3 separate regions of the Homo sapiens genome follow, and all the other regions are linked to region 3. Evidence: promoter capture Hi-C in human tissues and cell types (Jung and others, 2019). All regions are on one chromosome and are shown on one strand. The core of a region is centred on a gene start or on the middle of the fragment in contact, and the rest is flanking DNA. Distances in the headings are between cores, read along the strand shown.

Region 1 (3,172 bases), core at 193-2,692, 470 kb before region 3:
CCTATGAAAAATAAAATTAGCCCAGCTTGGGAGGCTGAGGTGGGGGGATTGCTTGAACCCTGGAGTTCCAGGCTGCAGTGAGTTGTTATCACACCACTGCACTCCAGCCGCGGTGACAGACCCTGTCCCTTAAAAAAAAAAAAATTATAACCAGCCACATTGAAATATTTTGTAAGACATTAATAGAAGACTAAATGTTCTCATATGTTTACTGTTTGTGTTAAGTACGTATGGTTTTTAGAACAACAGTTTTCTATCAAGTGTGGTCTGGTTCACTTAGAATTAGATGGGGTAGATTTTTTGAAAAGCGTTTTGAAGTTAAATTAGAAGCTAATGGTTTTTTGTCACTAAATCAAATTTTGTTTTATGCGTTTAAGTGCTACATTTATTTGATAGGCAGGTGAATGTAACAGATTAAACTTGAAAATAATGTAGCTATGATTCCTTCAAGGAAAAACCCACCTACCTTTAGTTCTTTTAGTATATTGCATTATAAGTCTTTTGTGTGTGCATATATAGCAGGCATAAATTGGCATAATTCTGGGTTTAATTTTAGGCTAGGCGCTATGGAAGTTTGAACTCTAATTACAGTGTAAAAATAACCCAGAGGAAAATTTCAGAATAATAAATCATTGGGACTATATGGTACAGATGTCCCTGTTTTCAGATTGTAGAATTGTTGACCAGTAGGAATGCTTTATGATTAAAAGCCAGGAAATTAAAGTAATTCTGATGATTTGGTATTTCTAAAGATTTTCATAGATGACAGTTGAGAACTACTCTCAGATGAGATTCTTCCATTGCTGGTAAGTCATGTAATAAAACACTTAAGTAAATATTTTAATGAGGAATGATAACATTTTAATATTGGCACATTGTGAGTCTACCTTCTGTAGTTAGTAGGTAAATAAGAAATAAACATACCTTATTTAAAAAAAAAATTTCAAAGAACCCAAGGGAGGGGAGAGCCAAGGTGCACATTAGAAGGAGATTACAGTACTCTTCCAGTGCACAGTGGATGTGTTGTGATTCCAGAGTTCTATGTATGTATGACTGTGTAGCCCAGATTTACCAGCATGGGCTCAGTTTTAAATGTTAGGTTAGGCTCATAAATCATGAAAAGTTCCTAGGAATTCTAACATTTTTACATTTCCAGAAGAGAGCCTCTTGTATTTTGTGGTAGTTGCCCCACCATCCCTCAAATATTGGTGTGTAGAATCTATTTTTGAGGATGAGGAAATACAGAAAAGAAAAATAAAAAGCTATTTTTTTTTAAGTATAAGAAGAAATGAAAGGTTTCTCTTCGCTTCATAGCCAATTCTAAAACTTAACAGTTGTTAAGTGTGTTTAACTGTAGAGGGAAAAAAATGCCTGGAAGGAAATTACCAATCAAATATAAAATGTAAGATAGCTGTAAAAGTACTGATATACATACAGCTTTTTTCCTTTTGGGGAGGCAGTATTTAAAAAAAATCCTACCAAACATATTCTCTAACTTTCAAAACTGTTAATAGCTTTATTGAGATAATTCACATACTATAAAATTCACCCTTTTAAAGTTTTTAGTATATTCACAGTTCTGCAGCCATCACCACTATTGAATTTTAGAACATTTTCATCATCCCCAAAATAAATCCTAACCTGTTAGCAGCCATTCCCCATTCTTTCCTGGCCTCTGGAAACCACTAATCTGCTTTGTCTCTATGAATTTATTTATTCTGGATATTTCATATAAATGGGAATCATACAGTATGTGTCCTTTTGTGTGTGGGTTCTTTTACTTACCATGGTATTTTCAAGGTATGTTCATTGACATGTATGTCTGTTTTTTTTGGGTAACACACACTCTTGATTACTGTAGCTTTGTAGTAAGTCTTGAAACCAGGAAATGTGAGTATTCTAACTTATTCTTTTTCAAAATTGTTTTGGGTCTCTGGGTTTCTCAAATTTCCATAGAATTTTAGGGTTAGCTTGCAAAAAAATGCAACTGGGATTTTAATAGGACTTGGATTTGTGTTGAATCTGTAGGTCTATTTGGGAAGTATTGCTACCTTAATACTGTCTTCTCATTCATGAGCATGGGATATCTTTCCATTTATTAAGGTGTTCTTTAATTTCTTTCATGTTTTGTAGTTTTCAGTATACAGGTCTTGTACTTATTACTTTAAAAATTTATTTCTAAGAATTTTATGTTTTGATGGTATTGCAAATTGAATTTTTTAAAATTTCATTTCAGGTTTTTAATTCCTTGTGCATAGATTTTTGTGTACTAAAACTTGTGTTTCATATAATTTTTTTTTCCTCTTAACTGTGTTATAGGAATCTTTCAAATGGTTGGCTACATACACATCCATCTGATTCACTTAGTAAACATTTCTTGAACACCTACTGTGTAGTGGGCCTTTTTTTCTAGGTCCTGGTAGAGACAGCAGTGTATAAAACCCACTCAGTCCTTTGCTTTCATGGCACTTAAATCCTAAAAAGAGATCATAAAGATAGGTAAAATATATGTTACATAGTGCTAAGGAGAAGAAACAAATAAGGGAAGTGTTTGCAGGTGAAAAGGATGATGGGAAATTTTAGATAGGGTAGGTAGAGAAAACTTCACTGAAATGGTAACTTGGGTGAAGAACTGAGGGAGATGAGAGAGCTAGCCATGTGGATATTTGGGGGAAGAGCATTTCAGGCAGAGTGTAGTGAATAGGGAAACCCCAAAGTGAGAGTGCCTGATGTGTTTGAAGAACTCGAGGTGTGGCCAGTGTAGCTTTAGAAAAGTAATTGATGGGAAATAGAGAGAATGGAGGGTACAGATATTTTGATCATAATAAGGTGTTTGATTTTTACCTATAAGTGAGATGGGAAGCTATTGGAAGTCTTTGAGCAGAGTAGTGAAAAAGTATGACTTATGTTTAGCAAGGTCACTCTGGTTGCTGTGTTAATCATAGACTGAAAAAGGGGACAAGGGCAGAAACAGACCAATTGGTAGACCATTAGTACAGATTAAGACGTGACTGAAATGGACAGAGTGGTCACAGTGAGGGTGGTGAGAAGTGGTTGAATTCTTGATATATGTTGAAATAGAGTCCATAGGATTTGGTAGTAGACCAGATGAAAGTGGGAAATAAAGGGAGGAGTAAAACATGATGCCAAAGTTTTTTGACCAGAGCAGCTG
Region 2 (3,442 bases), core at 716-3,215, 450 kb before region 3:
AACAGGAAAGTATTTCTCAAAAAAACTTCAAGGTTTTAAACATTTTACTATAAACATTATAGAAAACATTAAAAATTTCTTAATATGCATTTTAAAGTATGCCTTTTATGTGGTGAACGTTTTAACTAAACATTTCTCTAGAAGTTTTTATAACATTAATAAAACTAGTATACTTTTCTCTCCTAGAGAGTTACAGTGGAGGTAAAAGGAGTGGCTTGCAGGATGGAGAAGCTGCACCAGTGTTATTGGAAGTGAGCCACCATTTGAATTTGCTAGCTCATGCTGCAGTATTCAGATTAGTGGGTGTTTTGTGATCATATTTTCTGCGATTCAAATCAAGACCTAAAATTGATTCTCATTCTGAGATTTACATTTTATTATCCAATGTTATTTGGTTATTGTTTCAGTTTTAAAATTTCTGACTTGTTATTCTGACACACTTTAGGATAACCTAAGTCAATAGTTTAATACAAAAATTTCCCTTTGGTTATATGTTTTGAATTAGGTTATATGTTCTGCATTTACAAGCACATACAGGATTCTTACTTCCAGCAACTTGGCAGTAAAAGAATAAGTAGACTCTTTAGGAGCCAAAGTCAAGCTTGGGAACTGTTGCTAGGTGGTATATATTTCATAGTTTATGTTTGTTTCCAAGACAAGGTCTCACTCCATCGCCCAGGCTGGAGTGCAGTGGCACGATCACAGTTCACTGCAACTTTGACCTTCTGGGCTCAAGTGACCCTCCCACCTCAGCCTCCCAAGTTGCTGGGACTAAAGGCACCCACCACCACACCCGGCTAAGAGACGAGGTTTCATCATGTTGCCCAGGTTGACCTTGAACTCCTGAGCTCAAGTGGTCCTTATGTCTTGACCTCCCAAAGTGCTGAGATTACAGACATGAACTACCACACCTGGCATATGTCATAGTTTTGAGAGTTTGAATTCTAACCTCGGGACTTTGGTAACTTATTTATAATATTCTAGAAATATACTGTTATTAGGATGAGTAGAAATTCATTCAGACAGAAACTATTATAAATTACTGCAAGAAAAATGTCTGCTAGTTCTGCATATATTCATTTTTCTCTTGATTAAAAAACAATTTCCAATTTGAGTAGAACAACTTTGCTATGTTTAATAGACCCAGGACAGATTTATTTTAAGGTAATAATCTTTCAATCCTTCTTCTTCTATACTGGATTGGTTTAAATTACTTAGCTTGTCTTATCAATGGTTTTTAATAGCCTACTTTAATATATGTAAAAAGTAGTAATTAATATGTTACAGTTTGGTGGCAAACATTTTGATGCCAAAGTTCACATATTCTCTTGCTTAGGGAACAGAAATTGGGAAGATAGATGTAGTTATCATTTGATAATGTATTTAAACTCTATCCCATTTCAGGATCTCAAAACTTTGTAACAGTTACATATTGTACTTCTAAGACTTAGATTTGTTTTTCTTCTTGTGTCTTACCTTTTTGCAGTAATATTTTTATTTTCCTATCATCATGTCCTCATTTTTTCCCTCTCTTCTCTTTCCCTGTTAATTTTGAAAGTTTTGCTGCCTACGTGTTTGAAAACTTCTAATCTGCCTCTCTTCCCTCAGTGCCAGCAGGTTTATTTTTTGTTTTGCAAGCCAGCTCTGCCTCCTTACAGTATGACATCTGATGCTGGAGGGTCGCACTTTCAAAAATGAGTCAGCTGGTACATGGGGTTATCATCAATTTTTAGCTCTTCTGTCTGGGAGATACAAGTTTGGAAGCAATCTTGGGGTACTTACCCACAAGGCTGGTGGAGACCAGGTGTGTCACATAGGTGATTTGCTTGCTCCCTGGGGGAGAGGGTGGAGTGAAATTTTTGCATTTGTGTCACAGCCAAGTCACTGCCACCTCCAGCATGCCCCAGTTTTTAGTTGTTATGTAATTTTGTGCAAAATTGAAAATTTAAATACATTGCAAAGAAGATCTAAAATAAATATTTGAGCTGCTGGAGTCTTTTTTTTTTTTTTTTTTCCTTTTCCATTCTTGTCCTTGGAATCTGAATGAATTGCAGTGAGGGTAATTTTGAGAGTCTGATAAAGAAGTGAGGGGTTGTTTTTTGTTTTTGTTTTTGTTTTTAGCTAAGAAATTTAGAAAACAGGTTTGTGTGTGTGCGTGTGTGTGTGTGTGTGTGTGTGTGTGACTGATTTTAAGATTCTTGTTAGAGTTGCTTAAAGTTGGAAGCCTAAAGTCAGTGAGAAGTTCACAAATCAGGACTTTGTAATGCCAATTTGAAAATTTAGCTTTTGACCTCAAAAAACATTTTTTATCTAGTTTGGGAATTTCTAAGTGTTAGAAATCAATATTATATTGACTCATTCATTGTTGCTGATGCTGTTTATAAAAGTGAATAGATAGGGAAATACTGATTCATATCTCGTGAAATGAAAATGAAAGGCTTTTTAGTGACTTAGAATTTTAAATATTTCTACATGAGAGAGCAGTAGTATATTTAGAAATAACAAAGTAACTGGCAACTGTTTAAAACTGAAGTTAATTCACAGCTATCCAGTGCAAAACTTCACCTCAGGTGATACACTTTTGACAGGTAATACATACAGTAAGTGTATTTTTAGGGAAACAGTTTCATTGTTGAACCAAGATAATCATCATTAGAATGTTGTATCTGATTTAAGTGTCTTTAAACTTACCAAGGTATTAGATTTTAGTTTGAATTGTCTGGAGTAGCGGTAGCGGTTGGCACATTTGTTCTTAAAGGGCCAGAAAATAAATATTTTAGGCTTTATGGGCCATGTGGTTTCTGCCACAAGTCCTCAGCTCTGTTCTTTTAGTGTGAAAGCAGCCATAGATGATACCTAAATGAATGAGTATGGCTGCATCCCAATAAAACTTCATTTACAAAACTACATGGCTGGCCTAAGCTTTAGTCTGTCTGCCTAGGGAGTAGTTTACTGAGCCACTAATCTAAAGTTTAATACTGTGAGTGAATACCAGTGAGTACCTTTGTTAATGTGGATAACCAATACTTGGCTATAGGAAGTTTTTTAGTTGTGTGTTTTATTACACGTATTTGACTTTGTGAATAATTATGGCTTATAATGGCTTGTCTGTTGGTATCTATGTATAGCGTTTACAGTTTCCTTTAAAAAACATGCATTGAGTTTTTTAATAGTCCAACCCTTAAAATAAATGTGTTGTATGGCCACCTGATCTGACCACTTTCTTTCATGTTGACATCTTTAATTTTAAAACTGTTTTATTTAGTGCTTAAATCTTGTTTACAAAATTGTCTTCCTAAGTAATATGTCTACCTTTTTTTTTGGAATATGGAATATTTTGCTAACTGTTTCTCAATTGCATTTTACAGATCAGGAGAACCTCAGTCTGACGACATTGAAGCTAGCCGAATGTAAGTGTAACTTGGTTGAGACTGTGGTTCTT
Region 3 (3,298 bases), core at 349-2,848:
CCCCACTGCAAGCGGAGGCGACTGTCACCTCTGCTGCGTCTGCGCAACCTGCATCCTTTCCCAAGCAGCACTTTGGGGAGGGGGCAGCCGCCCACCTTGGCCGGCTTCCTCTCCTTACCACTGCACCCTAAAGAGGGTACGGCTGAAACTCCGAAACAGCAGAAGCTGAACACACACCACCTGCCCCCTCCCCACTGGCGGCTCTACAGGGAGGAAGCGGCCACCCCCCCGCTGAAGCGCTTGCGCAGATCTAAGCCGCTGCAGCGGCGGCCATCTTGAAGGAGCTGCACAATGGCAGTGACGCAACACAGACCCCCAGGTTATTTCGACATAGCCTTCCAAGACCTGGTTCCCAACAGAGAGAAACAATGAAAAAAAAGTAACCCCCAGGCATCACCTGGCCTATCAGTCAAAAGATCTGTAAATGCAAGTTCTGCACATCATTCCAGTCTTCTTATGCCATAGCCTCTAAAGCGAGGGTTCCTAAAGGGTACGCAAGGATTCCACGCATTTCTGCAGCCCCTGCGGCAGTGTAGGCATTGCGCAGTTTTAATAAAAAAGCACCACCACCACAGTAGGCAAACCAGATGACCATCGCAGGTCACAGGAAAATTAAAGGCTGCGGACTGTGCTACTGCCCCTTCTGATGCCCCCTCCTCTACACAGCAATCATTCAGCGTCCCTTAGTCACTCCGGACAGCGACAGGCCCCGCGGCCGCCATGCCCACCGCCTCCATGCCATGCCCACCGCCGCCATGCCTACCGCCGCCAAAGTCCACCACCGCCATGCCTACCCGCTGCCAATGCCCACCGCCGCCAATACCCACTGTCGCCGCCTTCCCCCTACCTCCCAGCCACTTCCTACGGACTCTCCCCGCGCCGCGACCACCAACACAACCCCCACCACTGTCACACCGACTCATCCCCCTGGTCCACTGCCATAGCCTCCTCGCCTCGGTCACTGCGACGAATTCCCCCCCCAGTCGCCCCACGTACCCTGCTCCACCACGCAGTGGTCACTATTATACACCTACCTGCGCTCAACACCCCCTAAATACCGATCACTTCACGTACCTTCGCCCCGCCACAATCACTCCAATATACCTACCTCCGCCTAAAATCCCTATGCACTGGTCCCCCCACGTACCCTCGCCACACGGAACTGCAATCACCCTGATGTACCCACCTCCACCCATGTCCCTTGCCCACTGCGGTTACCCCGCATGCTCCCAGTCACCACCGCCCTTCCCACCGCAGACACCCGCAATAGGACCTGTCGCGACACCACAGTTGGGGGCGGATGGGGGACGCGCCCCAATGCGAGCGGACAGGATACCATCGGGGCAGAACGGCACAACAGCAAGCCTCTGAACATTCCGGATCTGGTTCTCCAGAACAAAGGACTTTAGGGCCCAAATTCCGTTTATTCAGTACTCCAAGTCCTAAAAACTTGGAATATCTGATGAATAAAAGTGGCCGCTCCCCAGGCTGTCTCTTGAGAGAAGCCACCGGCACAGCTGACCTTGCCCGCTCCATCGCGTCACTGACCGCTCCTCAGACAGATGCGTCAGGCATCTCCGGCGGCCGCTCCACTCTGCGCCAGACTCGCTGCAGCAGCGGCAGGCTTCGCACACATCCCCGCCTGAGCATGCGCGCCAGCCTGCCTCTGCGGCCGCGCAGGCGTGCTTGTTTGCCGCAGTGCAGGGGTCCCAGCTCCCTCCCTCACCGGAATGACCTGGGGGGAGGGGGCTACTGGACCCCTAGGGCCCCACAGCACTGTTGCAATGAGAGGGGGCCTCTAGAAACCATAAGCAACCTGGGATCAATGGACATGTCTACCTGTTTTTTAAAATGTGTAAAATACTAAAGAAATAATTCTTGGTTCTACAATAAATTTTTGCACACACCACTGGCCAAACAATCCTAATTTACACTCACCCTCAGGTCTTCCTATGTGCGGTACAAAAAAGCTGGTTTGGAAAAGTTAAATGCGCCATAACCACAATCAATGCAAATACGCCAGACTTGAAATCCTTCCAAAAGAAAATATCCCTAACTCTAAAAGCATGCTACATTGTTCAAATTTGGTGCGATTTTTCTACCCTTTTTCTACTTTCTACATTTTGAGGGGGTAAATTGTGAAAATTATCTCCCCCAAAATCACAATATAATTAAACTCTCCTATACGGAATGGATAGATCATTCAACTCAAAAACACTGGCTATTCAATTTTTGTAAAACAAAAATATGAACTTAGACCCCCACCTAAGATCTAAGTAGGAGAGCCTTTCTTTGCCTATTAGAATTGGATACATTAAAATTTTTACCAATAATCAATGATAGCTGGAGTGGGGAGAAACAGGCACTTTTATATAATACTAATGGACAAGTAAACATTATTTACGACATAATATTCTATCTGCAGAAATAACGGAAGCATCAGTAACTCCAAAATTTAGACGCTGATGTAGCTTGGGAAAAGACACTGCAGAAAAGAAGAAAATAATCCTGAAACTGCATCTGCATAGTTTTTACACACATTTGCCCTTTCTCAATTGCCCATTATCGAAGAAGGGAGGGTGATGTGAGTGGAGGTTGACTAAATGGTTAAATCCCCTCCCAAGCCCTGTAAGCTACTGCTCAGTTCCCAATGATCCTACATTAAAACAGGTGCGCAGAGGCTTATCAATGCTGACTTCTATCGTAACAAAATCTCAGAAACTGTGTAATGTTCCTCACAGAGAACAGATAGGCTAACTAAATAAACGTATATATAAATAATAACATGCAATATGGCTGATGGAAAAAATGATGTATTAGGCTGAATCATATAAAATTGTCAATATTGAATTGTTTTGACCTACAAAAACATTGCAATTTCTAATAGTTCATTGATACATATTCACATAAAATAACATGGGAAGTTGACTCTGATCACGGGAGTCAATCGAAAAATAAAATGTAGGCTGGGCACAGTGGCTTACGCCTGTATTCCCAGCACTTTGGGAGGCCGAGGTGGGCAGATCACGAGGTCAGGAGATCGAGACCATCCTGGCCAACATGGTGAAACCCATCTCTACAAAAAACAGAAAAATTAGCTGGGCGTGATGGCACATGCCTGTAATCTTAGCTACTCGGGAGGCTGAGGCAGGAGAATTGCTTGAACGTGGGAGGCGGAGGTTGCAGTGAGCTGAGATCACACCACTGCACTCCAGCCTGGTGACAGGGCAAGACTCCATCTCAAAAAAATAAATAAAATAAAAGCATACTGTATGTTCAGTTTTACACTGAAAAAATT

Evidence for each region. Contacts are between HindIII fragments. The study calls those that stand out against the background at their distance.
Region 1: a contact is called between a fragment that was not itself captured here and the fragment with the promoter of SNURF in region 3, in 1 of the 25 tissues and cell types used here (dorsolateral prefrontal cortex).
Region 2: a contact is called between a fragment that was not itself captured here and the fragment with the promoter of SNURF in region 3, in 1 of the 25 tissues and cell types used here (dorsolateral prefrontal cortex).

Annotation. Positions count from the first base shown.
Region 1 is chr15:25,423,800-25,426,971 of GRCh38, reverse strand. All of the region lies in intron 1 of UBE3A (ubiquitin protein ligase E3A), which reads left to right. Among named protein-coding and RNA genes, the nearest start is that of UBE3A, 14 kb to the left of the region's middle. The HindIII fragment of the contact is 5,028 bases long and covers 1-3,172 here.
Region 2 is chr15:25,405,429-25,408,870 of GRCh38, reverse strand. UBE3A (ubiquitin protein ligase E3A) reads left to right here. Exons shown (of 13, transcript NM_130839.5): 4 at 3,369-3,410. The region is part of intron 147 of SNHG14 (small nucleolar RNA host gene 14); the gene reads right to left. Among named protein-coding and RNA genes, the nearest start is that of UBE3A, 32 kb to the left of the region's middle. The HindIII fragment of the contact is 3,743 bases long and covers 94-3,442 here.
Region 3 is chr15:24,953,287-24,956,584 of GRCh38, reverse strand. SNURF (SNRPN upstream open reading frame) reads right to left here and starts at 1,598. Exons shown (of 3, transcript NM_001394334.1): 1 at 1,523-1,598. The coding sequence starts at 1,536. It overlaps SNRPN (small nuclear ribonucleoprotein polypeptide N), which reads right to left and starts at 1,598. Exons shown (of 10, transcript NM_003097.6): 1 at 1,523-1,598. All of the region lies in intron 4 of SNHG14 (small nucleolar RNA host gene 14), which reads right to left. RefSeq lists enhancers at 1-51, 68-227, 52-617, 618-1,183. The HindIII fragment of the contact is 13,657 bases long and covers 1-3,298 here.